Regions from separate parts of the Homo sapiens genome. Here all the other regions are linked to region 1. Evidence: promoter capture Hi-C in human tissues and cell types (Jung and others, 2019). All regions are on one chromosome and are shown on one strand. Each heading gives the region's core, a stretch centred on a gene start or on the middle of the fragment in contact. The rest is flanking DNA. Distances are from core to core; before and after follow the strand shown. Region 1 holds the start of PRIMA1 (proline rich membrane anchor 1). Region 2 overlaps UNC79 (unc-79 subunit of NALCN channel complex). Region 3 overlaps FAM181A-AS1 (FAM181A antisense RNA 1).

The links. Contacts are between HindIII fragments. The study calls those that stand out against the background at their distance.
Region 2: a contact is called between a fragment that was not itself captured here and the fragment with the promoter of PRIMA1 in region 1, in 6 of the 25 tissues and cell types used here (H1 embryonic stem cells, aorta, dorsolateral prefrontal cortex and 3 more).
Region 3: a contact is called between a fragment that was not itself captured here and the fragment with the promoter of PRIMA1 in region 1, in 2 of the 25 tissues and cell types used here (heart left ventricle and pancreas).

What each region holds. Positions count from the first base shown.
Region 1 is chr14:93,786,968-93,791,290 of GRCh38, forward strand. PRIMA1 (proline rich membrane anchor 1) reads right to left here and starts at 1,518. Exons shown (of 5, transcript NM_178013.4): 1 at 1,443-1,518; 2 at 659-782. The coding sequence starts at 751. RefSeq lists enhancers at 884-1,595, 1,596-2,309, 2,310-3,021. The HindIII fragment of the contact is 12,037 bases long and covers 1-4,323 here.
Region 2 is chr14:93,700,220-93,704,183 of GRCh38, forward strand. The region is part of intron 50 of UNC79 (unc-79 subunit of NALCN channel complex); the gene reads left to right. Among named protein-coding and RNA genes, the nearest start is that of PRIMA1, 86 kb to the right of the region's middle. The HindIII fragment of the contact is 4,233 bases long and covers 135-3,964 here.
Region 3 is chr14:93,908,996-93,913,421 of GRCh38, forward strand. It overlaps FAM181A-AS1 (FAM181A antisense RNA 1), which reads right to left. Exons shown (of 11, transcript NR_027004.2): 7 at 2,519-2,624; 8 at 1,575-1,614; 9 at 1-175. Among named protein-coding and RNA genes, the nearest start is that of FAM181A-AS1, 15 kb to the right of the region's middle. The HindIII fragment of the contact is 4,934 bases long and covers 1-3,979 here.

The sequences.
Region 1 (4,323 bases), core at 268-2,767:
GACATCGAAGTCCACCTTGTCACCTCTCCACTGTACCAGTGACGATGCGCATTCTGGGGGGGACTAGGGACCACCCCATTGAAACCCCTCTCTGACCCTAAGAGGTAACTCCAGTTAGTGGCTGCCTGGCCTCTGCCCTGGGATTTAAGGGACCCAGGGTGAGAGATTCAACCCTGGGCAGTCCTGACAGATGGGCCACCATGCATTATCTGTCTACATCCTCAACTCTGATACCTATAAGAAACACGGCTGCCTTCCGTGTTGAAAACCAGTTTAAGAAAGCTAATTTGAAGTTCATCAGTGGTTCTGGTGAGAAAGAAATAATATATATCCTTGGGATCATTTTTCTTTGTAAGTTTGTTTCTTTGCTGAATTTCTGCCCTAGAATGTTATCATTGGAAGGTATTCTCTGAGCCCCTTTCCATTCCAAGGCCAGCCCGGTCCTGCAGGATTTAGGCCACAATCGAAGCCTCTCTTTGGAGTTTCTTATCTTTTCAGGGGTAGGGTATAGGGGACCGTAGCAGCTTTTCTTTTCCCAAGCTCTTCCGAGAACCAATCAGTGGGGTGGCTGCAAGAGGCCAGGGTCTCAGGAGGGAAGGGACAGCTCGCCCCTTACCCAGGAGGCCCTCCCAGCCAGTGCGCAGCCGGCGCGTCTCACCTGCACGAAGCCCCAGAGCGGGTGGAGCGCGCAGTGCAGCAGCAGCGAGGACCAGCAGCAGCCACGGCGCAGCACCAAGTCCCGGAGGAGCATCTCGGCCAGCGGCGCCCGCTCCTGGGGCGAACTGTCAGGAGAGCAAGGCTAGGGTCAGGCGGACACCGCGCAGGCACTTCCGCCGCCGCGCACCAATATACCTCCCAGCCCGGGTCGGACGGGCACGCCCCGCACCCAGGGGCACCCTAGTAAACCAAGCCTGCACTTACACTCCAGCTTACACCTTCACTGACTCTTCGTCAGTCCCAGAATTCACACTCTTCTTACGCACATCCCCAGAGCCCCGCGTGTACACTTTAGCTCCGCGCACAGCTCCAGAATACTGCGTGCATACCTTGGCCCCATGGACACCTCCAGAAACAGCCAAGCACACTTACTGCGCCCCATTAACCCCCATACAACTCACTCTCACTGTGAGCACACTTCAAACCCGGCGGGCACTACTCACCTGCGCGCACAACCACAGAAACAGCCGTGCACACACACTGATCCCCGTGCACACCCACCGACTCCTGCCTGCACCCTCGCTGACCCTGCATGCACGGCCCCAAGAAATCTCACGCTGCCTGCACCCACACTGCCCAGCCGGCCTCATTGCGCACACTGCAACATAGGCACCTCCGTGCGCTGCCCCTTTGCACGCCTCCGCCCAGCCCCGATCTCCCGCTCCCGGGCGTGGGTTCCCCCACGCCTCCATCTCCGCCCGCACCCTTCCAACGCCTCACGCTACCTTGCCTGGCGGCGGCCCCAGCCGACCCTGGGCTCGGGGAAAAGAGGTCCGCGTTCCCCCCGCGGCAGCTCTGTTTCCCAGCAGCCGGACAGCCCCCATTTAAAGCCAGCCGCCTCCCCAGTCCCCCGCCCTCTAGGCGGGGCCTCCGTCCTCACCTTGGCGGCTGCGCGGGCGCCCGGGGGCTTCACATGCCGGGGAGGAGCGCCCGGCGCTGGAGCAAAAGTTTGCGCGCCGGTTGGGCCTCCCGGGCCGCTGAGCAGAGGACCAGGAGCGGCGTCCTCGCACGGGGCGCAGGGCGCGGTGGCTCCGGACTGCGCCTAGCCGCGCGCGGGGCGGGAGGGGCGGCACCCCGCTCCCAGGGCCAGGGCTGGCCGCCGAGGCGGAGGCAGAGGGCGGGGAAAGTCTCCTCCACGCCGCCTGGAGCCGGCCGCGCGAGCCCTCCCCGGGCCCGCGTTGGCTCCCCGCCTTTCCTGGTGGCGCCGCGCGGCTGCCCGGGGCACTGGGGTGCCCGAGCTCTCTACTACCCTCACGCTGGCCCGCGAGAGGCAGCGGCGGGAGGCGCCGGCAGGGAGCTCCCGCTGGGGCAGCAAAGCCGTGGGTGGAGGCGAAATAAATAATCCACGAAAAAGGAAAACAGACGTGAGCCGAGCCAGAGCCTCTCCCGCCTCCCGCCCGGGGTTGCGCTCCCCCCGCCGCCGCCGCCAGCGCCGCTGCAGTGATTCCTCGTCTCCATCTAGCGAGGCTATTGTGTATTGGGCGCTTAATTATTTATTCACCCTGGAGGCCGAGGATTCCCACTTCCATGGGGTTTTGGCCCTTGCCTGCGCTTCCCCCAAGCCTCTCCCGAGGCTGCGGAAAGGTGGCGAGGACTGACTTGAGACCCTTTTTTGCGCTCCATCCTTGAGGACTCTCCCCGCCGCACTCCCCGCAGGCTCTCCCGGGCGCCGGGGCTGAAAGGTGCAGGCCGCCCCTCTCCCGGCCATGGGCCTTGTCCTCTCCTTTGTAGTCCCAGCAGCAGAAACTCTCTTGCAACACTAGGCTGCGGCTGGGAAGGAGTTGTGACGGCCCTGGGGAGAACATTTCTACCACTGCTCTTCCTCAACCATCTGCAAACTCCTCTGTTTGAGGCAAGATTATCAACAAGTCGGTTCTTCGGGAGGTAGCCTGGTTGCATCTCTTTCAGACAAGCTGTGCCTAGCAGCATCACAGGCATGGCGCGGCCTCTCTGCTCTTGTGGTGGAAGCACTTTGCAAGCGCTTTGACTGATGGGGGCGCCTTCCAGAAGGCCCTCAAGGCCTGGACAATCCTATTTTTAGGTTGGATGAGAGAACCAGGGGCTTAAGACACAGAGCTGAGGGTCAGATACTACAGTGCATGCATGGAAGAAACATTTACTGAGCACCTTTTCCCGGTATTTGGACACCCTTAAGCCACTCATGTAAACACACACTATAAACGCTGGTTTGCAGAGTATAAACTACCTTGCAAGCCAGCTTTCAGAACAACGTCTTAGCGGCCTCCTTCATGCCAGAGCGCCGCCCCGAGGCTGCAGATTGCACCTCAACCAGCAAGATGCAGGGACAAATGTGAATGAGACCTTGTTCCTTCCCCCCTAAGAATTCAGGGGCCTGTCAGGGAGATGGATAAAACCAACCATTCCACTGTGCACTGGCATGTCACACACAGCTGCCCCGAGAAAGGGGAAGACAGGAATGGAGGGCGGGTTGAGTAAAGGCTCCCAGGAGAGGGTGACTTCCTGGGAGTAGGGGAACATCTCAAGCATTGGTAACTCTTTGTGCAAAGAAATGGAGACATTTATTCAATCCTTCATTCCTTCATTCCATATGTAGCCTCCATGGGCACCTGCTGGGGGCCAGACAGAACTCTGGATGCTGGGTAGAAAAGGGAACAAGAGGATATCTCACTGGGGGTGGGATAGGATGGAGGGAGGATGGCAAGAAGATGAAGGGGTAGGGACTTCCTAGGTGACTCATCTACAGTTTGGAGAAATGGAGCAGCTATTGGTCAGCTGAGGTCAAAATAACACTGGATATTTTAATGCCTGTCCGGCTAAAACAAGTCGTGGTATTTTGCTCAGCACAATCTTTACATTTGACAACAGCTCCTGATGTTTACACATGGAGCTCATTGCCACTTACAAATGTTATTTACACCGCATTTTAATTCAGGTCTCACAACTCTTTGATGTAAGTGTAATTGCCCTGTGTGAACAGTTCAGAGACCTTTGTGCCTGAGCCAGAATCACACAGCGGCTCACTGGGGGTTCAGAAATACTAACCCCCAACTAGAGGCTCACGACGTTGGGAGAACTTAGGTAAGTTTTGTGCATTGGAAAACCTGCATTGTCTAATCTGGTCTTCAATATTGCTGTAGTGGACCTAATCTATGCACCTCTCGAGGGTCACCTGGTGTAGATTGCCCGATTCTGTCACTGTTCAGTGTGCCACTTGTAGCCTGCACGGACCTAGGGGGACTGAACAAAGCGGGGCGAACGTGGGAATAAAAGACAAGAGATAAAAGAGTGTATTTGGAAGAAGGGGTCAGGGGGCGCCTTGCCTCTACTGGACAAGGGCCCTGAGTTTTACACAGCTCTCCATATTTATTAGGCAAAAGAGATAGTGAGAAAGGGGAGGGGGTGTGATTGTCCAGTAATTGTCAATTGGTTCACAGCAGGCTTGTGAGGCTGCATCCTTTGAACAATAGGTGCTAGATTTCCCAATAGATAACTTCGAGGAGCCCGGCACCAAGGAGTGATGTCCCTCAGCAAACCTTTTGGTGGCAGGGCCTTGTGAGTTTGCCCTCATCCTGCATTCATGATAAACAGTTTGCTGTTTGATCATATAGCCTCCAGCAGAATGAT
Region 2 (3,964 bases), core at 1,001-3,500, 86 kb before region 1:
AAGCAATTTGATGATGCTATGCCTTGGTAGAGTTTTCTTCATATTTCTGGTGCTTGGGTTTGGTGAGCTTCTTGAATCTCTGGATTTATAGTTTTCATTAGATTTGGAAAAATATCAGCCATTGTTTCTTCAAATATTTTATTCAGTGCCTCTACTCAACATGCCCAATCTTTCTTCTACCTTCTTGACCATATTGAATATAGGTATCATAACTGTTTTAATGTCCTTGTCTGTTAGTTCTGTTATCTGTGTCATTTTTGTTTTATTTTCTGTTAATGGATTTTTCTCCTCATTCGTGTGTTTCTTTTGTTGTTGTTGTTTCTTAGCATGCCTGGTAATTTTTTATTGTATTCTTGACATTGTTAATTTGACTTTCTTGGGTGATGGATATTTTTATATTCATATAAAATATTCTTAAGCTGTATTCTGTGACATAGTTACATAACTTACAAATATCTTTATCCTTCTGAGGCTAACATTTAAGCTTTGTTAGGTATTGATCAGAGCAGCAATTTTTGTAGGGCACGTAGTTCTTCACTGCTGCTGCTGTATACCACTATCCTTATCAGTACTCTCATGATGTTCTATGAGTTATAAGATTTTTCCACTCTGACTAATAGGAACACAAAATATTCTTGGCCCTATATAATCACCAGGGGATTTTTTTCCTTCTAAGATTTTCGGGTCGTTTTTTCTCCAGTGTTGGGTAGTTTTTATAACTTGCATGTACTGGTCAGCACTCAGCTGAAGACTCAGGGGGATCCCTTTTCAGATCTTTGGAGTTGTCTCTCTCTCTGTAGATCTCTCCTGTCCAGTACTCTACCTTGAAAACTGTAGTCACTTTGACCTCCCAGGGCTCCTGGCTACCTCTCCTCACTCAGGAAGACTGCCAGGCTCCACCTGCATTCCTGCTGCCAGTGCTACTGCCTGAAAACTCTCTCTAGGCAGTGAGCTGGAATACCTGCAGGACTCACCTGGTTTGTTTCCTTTCCCTCAGTGATCTCTGTCCTGCATTTCTTGATGCTCAATACCTGAAAAACATTGTTTTTTATAGTTTGTCTGGATTTTTAGTTGTCCCAGGCAGGAGGGTAAATCTGGTCTTTGTTACTCCATCTTGGCTGAAAGAGAAAGTTTCATCACCAATTTTAATTTTGAGGGCTGGAATAAGCAGGATTGAAATGAGTACAGTCCAACCAGGCAGGAAGTCTTCCATTTGTTCTGTAGCATGAACCAAGATAAGAGGAAGGGTATCACTTTTATTCTTGTGAAAACCTATTTTTTAAATGTCCTTCAGTTTTCAGGATATTGTTTCTGAAGAGGGGGGAGAAAAAAAAGCCCAACCAACTTTACTCCATCATAACATTGCAGAGCCCAAAATAAATCACATCTAATTCTTACTGACAGATTTGTAGGAACCACTAGCAAAAGAGAATGAAAATGAAAGTTATTCAATAAGTCAAATTAACATTTCTGAAATAGGGTGATGGCTGGGTTATATAATGTCATCAATAATGATGAGCTTTAACTGGATACATTTAGTCACGTGATTTGCAAATCACAAACCTGAAGGTCCCTTGCAGGTATATTTTAGAATCACATGGTCATAGATTACATCAATGGGGAAATAATAAAAACACTTTTAGACCAACATCACTATTCCCCTTGCTTGCTTCACATGGACGCTTAGCCACAGTGGCAGCACTGGGAAAGGTATCCACCCAGGGACAGGGTACTCAGTACTCCCTGACCCTACTCTTCTCAAGTCCCTCACAATTCTTAACAGGAGGTTAGTTTGGGTATTTCCCAAATATCAAGAGGCGTATGGGCCCACTTCTGTATTAAATAGTCAAAGGTCAACAAAGTCTGTAGCATCAGCACCCTCCAGGGCTTGCTTTTTGCTGTGCAGAAATTATAGGGGGAGACAGTTAGACTAGATAAATTTTTTTTTTCCATTCAGAATGTCTAGAGGAGCCAGTCCTAGTAAGGGTCAGAGGGCACAGCCTTATCTGGTACCAATCTTTGTAATCCCACCGTTTTGTTATGAGGGTTGGGGGACAGGGGGAGGCATGGAGAGGGTGGCATCTTCTGATATTTTCAGCTTTAGTCTCATTACATTTTCTGATACACACCATACTCCATTTATAAACACAGTATTCATGTTAGAGACCAAGTGTTAGCTAGCTGCAACAGAAACACTACGTTTAGGAATGTTTAGGAGTAAATGTCAATAGAAGTCAAATTAGCGAATTATATACATCAACAGAATGTTAAAAGTCAAACAACAGCCAGATTTAGCCTTGGGAACAAAAACAGGGAGAGAAATGCAGCTTATCACTTCACCAAGTTCATTTTAAAGAAAATGTGATGAATTCAATGAAACCAGCAGCTTATGGCTATGACTAACTTTGAACTCTGAGGTCATTCACATACTGTCCCCCATCCCAAAAAGCTCTCCTTCGTCTTTGGTTTTGTTCATTACATCAGTGTCCCCCAGTTTGCCCAGGTTAGAAACCTCTACCTCTTCTTTGACCTTTTCCTCACTTGAAAGAGCAGACTCATCCTCAGATCCTCAAGATTTGTCTCTGCAGGTGGAATCCTTCCCCATCCCCAGAAACTGTCCCTGGTCTTCTCTGGACCATTGAGGCAACCTCCACAGTGGCTCTTGCCTCCATTCCCTGCCTCCTTCTTCACCCTAATCTGCAGGCTGCTGCCACGGTGATCTGTCTGGAGCACTGTTTTGCTCATGGTGAATAGAGCATCCCCTCTTCGGAAGTTGTATTGAATTTGGAATAAAATTCAGATCCCCTAATTTGGCATTTAGGGCCATCTGGTGGGCTAAGGGTGTGAAGGCCTGGCCTGTGCTTTTCTAAACTTGTTTTTCATGGCCGTTTTCTAAGAGCCTCACATGTCAGCATCACGTGACTGTCTCCCCTCCCCGACTCTCTGCACACTCCCACCAATGAGCTTCGCCATGCCTTCTCTCTGCTTCCTGGAATGCCCTTGTTCTGGCTTCCCAGGACTACCAAGGTATTACAGTCTGGGTGGTTCAACCAACAGAAATGTATTCCCTGGAAGTTCTGGAGACCAGAAGGCTGAGATCAAGGTGTCGGCAGGGTTGGTTTCTTTTAAGGGATTGGAGAGAGAATTTGTTCCAGACCTGTCTCCTAGCTTCTGGTGGTTTGCTGGGTCTTTGGGGTTCCTTGGCTTGTAGGTCCCTGTCTTCATCTTCACATAGCATGCTTTCTGTGTGTTTGTGTGTAGGTGTCTAAACTCCCCTTTTTATAAGGACACCCGTTATATTGGATTAGGGGCTCACCCTACTCAAGTATGACCCCATCTTAACTAATTTACATATTCAACAATCCCATTTCCAAATAAGGTCACATTGTGATGCAGTGCAGATTAGGACCTCAATATAGATTTTAATGGGGCACAATTCAATGCATGACAACACTACTCCTTTATTTGAGTGGAGGGTTGGAAGGAATATGGAGCGAAATGATATGATGCATATTGGTGTATTAAAGATCTGAGAAGTACTGAAATATAGAAACTAACATTTCCAAACCTATTGGATCGGAGTCCCCCTCCACCATTTAAAAGCTCTCCAAATTAGAGTGCCATGGGACACAGTTTGAGGAATGCCATATTCTGTCTCCGACTTCTGGATGCACAAGGCCATGAATATTTACTTAGATTTTAAAGGACTGAAACACGGAGGAGGGCCCAAAGCAGAGAGAAGGAGCAGCTTCTGGAGGTCCTCAGGCCAGGGCACCTATGACCTCCTCCCAGGAAGGACCACATCAGAGGGGTTGAGGTCCTGTCAGAGAGGCAGCAGAGGGCCAGGGTTCTCCAGCAGGGACTTGCTGCTTGGCTGTGTGTGCTCCCACACTTCGCAGACACCCGGCTCAGTCTCGCTGTATTACACCTTCCAGATCGCAGCCAGGCATCTTGGAGTGGTCTT
Region 3 (4,426 bases), core at 263-2,762, 120 kb after region 1:
ATATTGACTGGGAATGGAGGATGTGCTTCCAGAATACTTGCTTATATGGCTACTGACAGGAGACCTCAATTCTCCACTGGCTTTTGGCCCAAGTCCTCTCAGCTCCTCATCACATGGGCCTCTCCTCAGGGCTCCTTGAGCATCCCCACAACATGGCAGCTGGCTTCCCCTAGAGCTGATCCAAGAGATTAAGGAGGAAGCTGCTGAGCCTCTTATGACCTCATCTCTGAAGTCACAGATGGTCACTTCATATCATTCTATTCACTAGAAGAGTGACTAAATCCAGACCACACTAAGGGGAGGAGTATTAGGCTCCACTTCTTAAAGGGATGAGTATCACAGAGCTTTCGACATACTTTAAAATCATCGCATGTGTGGAAGGTGCTGAGATAGAGTGTGAAGGATACTGAGAGGCAAGAGGGAGAACGTGGTCAATTCTACCTAGAATAATAGAGGGAGTCAGAGAAGTAAAGTTCTAACGAGGTGATAACGAATGAGCTGAGTTCTGTCCTAGACCTGGAATGTGACCTTAAACAACCCACCATCCCTTCCTGGGTCTCTGTGTTGTGGAAATAAATTGGGACCACCCAAAGGAGATCAAACAGAGGCCATTTATTGTGTGCTTGGTATGGCAAGGGAATGGGCCACTGTCACTTGCATTTGACAGAGACTCCCAGGCAGGCAGGGTGAGGGGAAGCATCATAGTGAAAAGGGGGAGGCCTCAGGTGTGCCCTGACTGGAGGTTGTTGCATGGGGAAGCGGGAGGTGGCTAGCTGGAAGCCCGACATCTTATGTGATTGCATTAGGAGCATATTTGGCTTTCTTTCATGGGTGTTGAGTTGGAAGCAGTAGTCAACAATAGGGAAGCTGACCAGGATTGACAGAGCCCTGACCATTCTGGGCCCATTGCCACAGAGGTTTGGTTTGGCTTCATGTGCTGCTTGCTGCAGAAATTGTGGGCCAAGGTTCTCTTTTCCTACACAGGCAGGCCATTGTCTGTTTGTACTTTGGGCTTTCGGGGTCCTCCCCTGAAAATCAAAGGTTGGTTGGCTGAGCTCTGAGGTCCTGCCCAGCCCTGACATTCTGAGGATCTGGCTTCTTCACCTGGAAATGAGGTGTACAGAGATGGAGATGTACTGGATGGAAAAAGGACTGGCTAGTCTGAGGGGTGGCCATGCCAGAGGTGAGGCCTTGTGGACAAACTGGAGATGAAAGACAGGGAGATGCCTCGAATGGACCCTCTTTCCTGCGGGTACTCCCAGGAGTTTCCAATTCTCAGCATCCCAGCATCTTTGACTCTGGACATGGAAGGTTACAGGTCACCTCAGGCAACTTCCCCAGTGCACACACTGATGCTTAAATCTGCATTACTATCTTCTCCCCAACTGTCAGTCTTATTCTTGCTCGATTACCTCTGGAGACAGCAAGCTCACTCTCAGTGGAGACAGGGGTGTGGCCCATCTGGTCTGGCACATGAGGTGGCTTCCAAGATGGCTGGTACATGTGCTGTGCTCAGCCCCTGAGCACTCATCCCACCACATCCTCCCCAGGCTGACCCTGCCCTTCCCTCTTACCCCGTGCAACAGCGGCTGAGGATTTGCCTCAGGAAGGACCCTGGCAAAAAGAGAGGGGAAGGTTAGAAGGGAACCCAGCCTTTTCCAATGCCACCTCCATAGGGAAGCCTTTTTATCAGATTAGCAATGGTCTGGAGGAAACGGGACACAGGACTGGTAAATTTTGACATGGAAATGGAGATGAGGAAAAACCTGTAAGTGCTCTTCAACTGTTATGTCTTTGCTATGACAGCACAGACCTCCTAGTGTCCCCATCTCATCTGATGGTCACCATCATCCTGAAGGGCATGGCAGGGTCCCTCCTCCCAGGTCCCCCCTCTTAGGGTGTGACTCCACCACCTGCCTGCTTGCCCAAGCCTGCAAGTCTCCCTGAACTTTTCTTCTCCTTTGTGCCCCCATTTCTGACCCTATAAAGTCTATTTCCTAATGGGCACAGAAACCCATCCTTCCTGTCCCTCCCCGGCCACTGTAGTGCAATAGTCATGCCCAGAGGCTGAGGCTCAACAACCTGGGCGCAAATCATGGCACTGACATGAATAAGTTGTGAGGCCTCTGGTGCCCGATCCCCCCTTGTTAAGCCCATCTCTCATCCTCATAGCGTCCCTTCCCCACCATCCAGCAGGATGAAGCCCACCCCACCCTCCCTTCCTCTGTCCCAGCCTCTGCCCCATCAGCCTATCCTCCAGGTTCTATCACACCCAGTAGCCCACACAGAGGTCGGTGAGCAGAGGACTCTTTAGCCCAGCTCTTAATGAAGGAGATGGAGGGGTGGGGGCTTGGGAAATAAATATACCAAACAACTCAATGACACAGGCCTTTTCTGCATGGAATTAAATTCACATGCAGATGGAGGCAGTAGCCCTGTAGGTGGACTGCTGGGGTTTGTGTCTGGCTCTGCCATTTACTAGCTGTGACCTTCAACAAGTCACTTCCCCAGTCTGTACCTTAGCTTCCTCATCTTAAGATGGGCTGCTAATAGTATCTACTCATGGGTTGTAAGACAGATAGCCCTTCCCAATGCAGGTGGACACCATCCATTCTGTTCAGGGCCTGCATAGAACAGAAAGATGGAGGGAGAGTGAGTTTGCTTTCTGCCTGTGACTGCTTGAGCTGGGACATCGATCTTCTGCCCTCAATGTTCCTGGCACTCAGGCCTTCAGATCTGAACTGGAATCTCCACAGTGGGCTTTACTGGGTCTCCAGCTTGCAGACAGTGAATTGTGGGACTTCTCCAGCTTCACAATCACGTGAGCCAATTCCTTCTAATAAATCTCCTCGTATGTGTGTGAGCTGTTGGTTCTGTTTCTCTGGAGAACTCTGATTAATACACCACATGCTTAGAATAGTGGCTGGCACATAGTAGGTACTCAATGAGTATTAGCAAATATTACTATCTTACCTGGTTCCATAAATACTCTCCCACTGAAAAGGTGTTCCTTTGTGTCTCACCTTGGAAGTGACAAGGCCACCAAACCCAATCCTTGCATGTTTCTCCAGGAGGCCTCTCTGGTCTTGTCTGGTGTCCATGAGCCCAGTTGCACCAGGGACTCCAAGGCCAGGCCTGTGGGGTGCTGAGACAACTGGCCTCTTAGTGCTGAGTGGGCGCCAGGGTCCCTCTGATGGCTGCCACCTGCAGCCACCTCTAGGCCCCTGCTGGCCAGGAGGTATGGGAAGCTCTGGGTGCACACCAGTTTCGGGGATGAGGCTGGGATCAGGGAAAAAAGTATGTCTGCTTGTCTGGTAGGGTCTGCCTCCCAACTCCACATGACTCAGTTTAATTCAGTTAATTCCCAAAGCACTTCTGAGCCCCTACTCTGAGCCAGTTGGACTGTCAGGGCCCCAGAAATAAACCAGACCCAGTCCCTGTTTTTAAGATATTCCGCAGAGCCTCGATCTTTCTGCAGATGGACTTCAGGGGTTTAAGAGGGGGACTGCCGCCCCAGCCCACCCAAGTCACAACCACAGCTGATCCCTCCAACTCATCTCACATTTTGGTCTTCAGTGAGACAGTTGCTTAAAAGAAAAATTTGCTTTTTTCTTTTTCTTTTTTTTTTTGAACAGCCTTGGAAATAGGGCTCATATTAAACGTGGCCTTGATGTATGCGTTTAATTTTGACAGTGAATGAGGGAGTGAGAGGAAAGAGGGCAGCCCAGGTAGAGGAAACAGCTTGAGCAAAGGTGTGGCTGTATGTTTCTCAGAGGGGAAGGAGGGACATTTACTGAAGATTTGCCCAGAGCCGAGTGTGAGTGAGCACCCAGATATTCAGCTCTCATGAGAGTCCTGCAAAGAGTATGCTATTATCCTCATTGACTGATGAGGCTCAGAGAGGCAAAGTAAAGGTCAGGGCATAGGCTTGGGAATCACACCCAGCTGGGAGATTTCCAGCACACATGCGCTTTCTACTGCCAGAGGCTACTTGAGGGGAGGCAGAGTTCCAAGCAGGTTTCATGCTGGGTGTGGCCAAGACAGACTCCAGTTGCTGGGCTTGAGTTAGCATGGCTCCCAGATGTTAGAGCAGGCTCACTTGGCAGAGTTGGGCTAGCAGGGAGGGCTTGGGGCTGTCATCATTCACGGCCACATGGACACGGCTCAACCATTTATAATTAGAGTTATAACTTAAAACAATCAACAAAAAAGACTTGGTAAGTACCTTCACCTCCCAGCATACACCCATCACATCTATTATTGCCACAAAGAATTCGTGACCAAAGGAAGCTGGTTCAGAAGCCCAGCCCTGTGTTAAGGTCCCGTGGGGTCTGAGCAATGTGAAAATACCCTGGGAACAGATAGATCTCTTCTGTGTCCTCCCAAGGCCTCTGGAGTTCCTAGGATAGTCATCTTATAAAGTGGT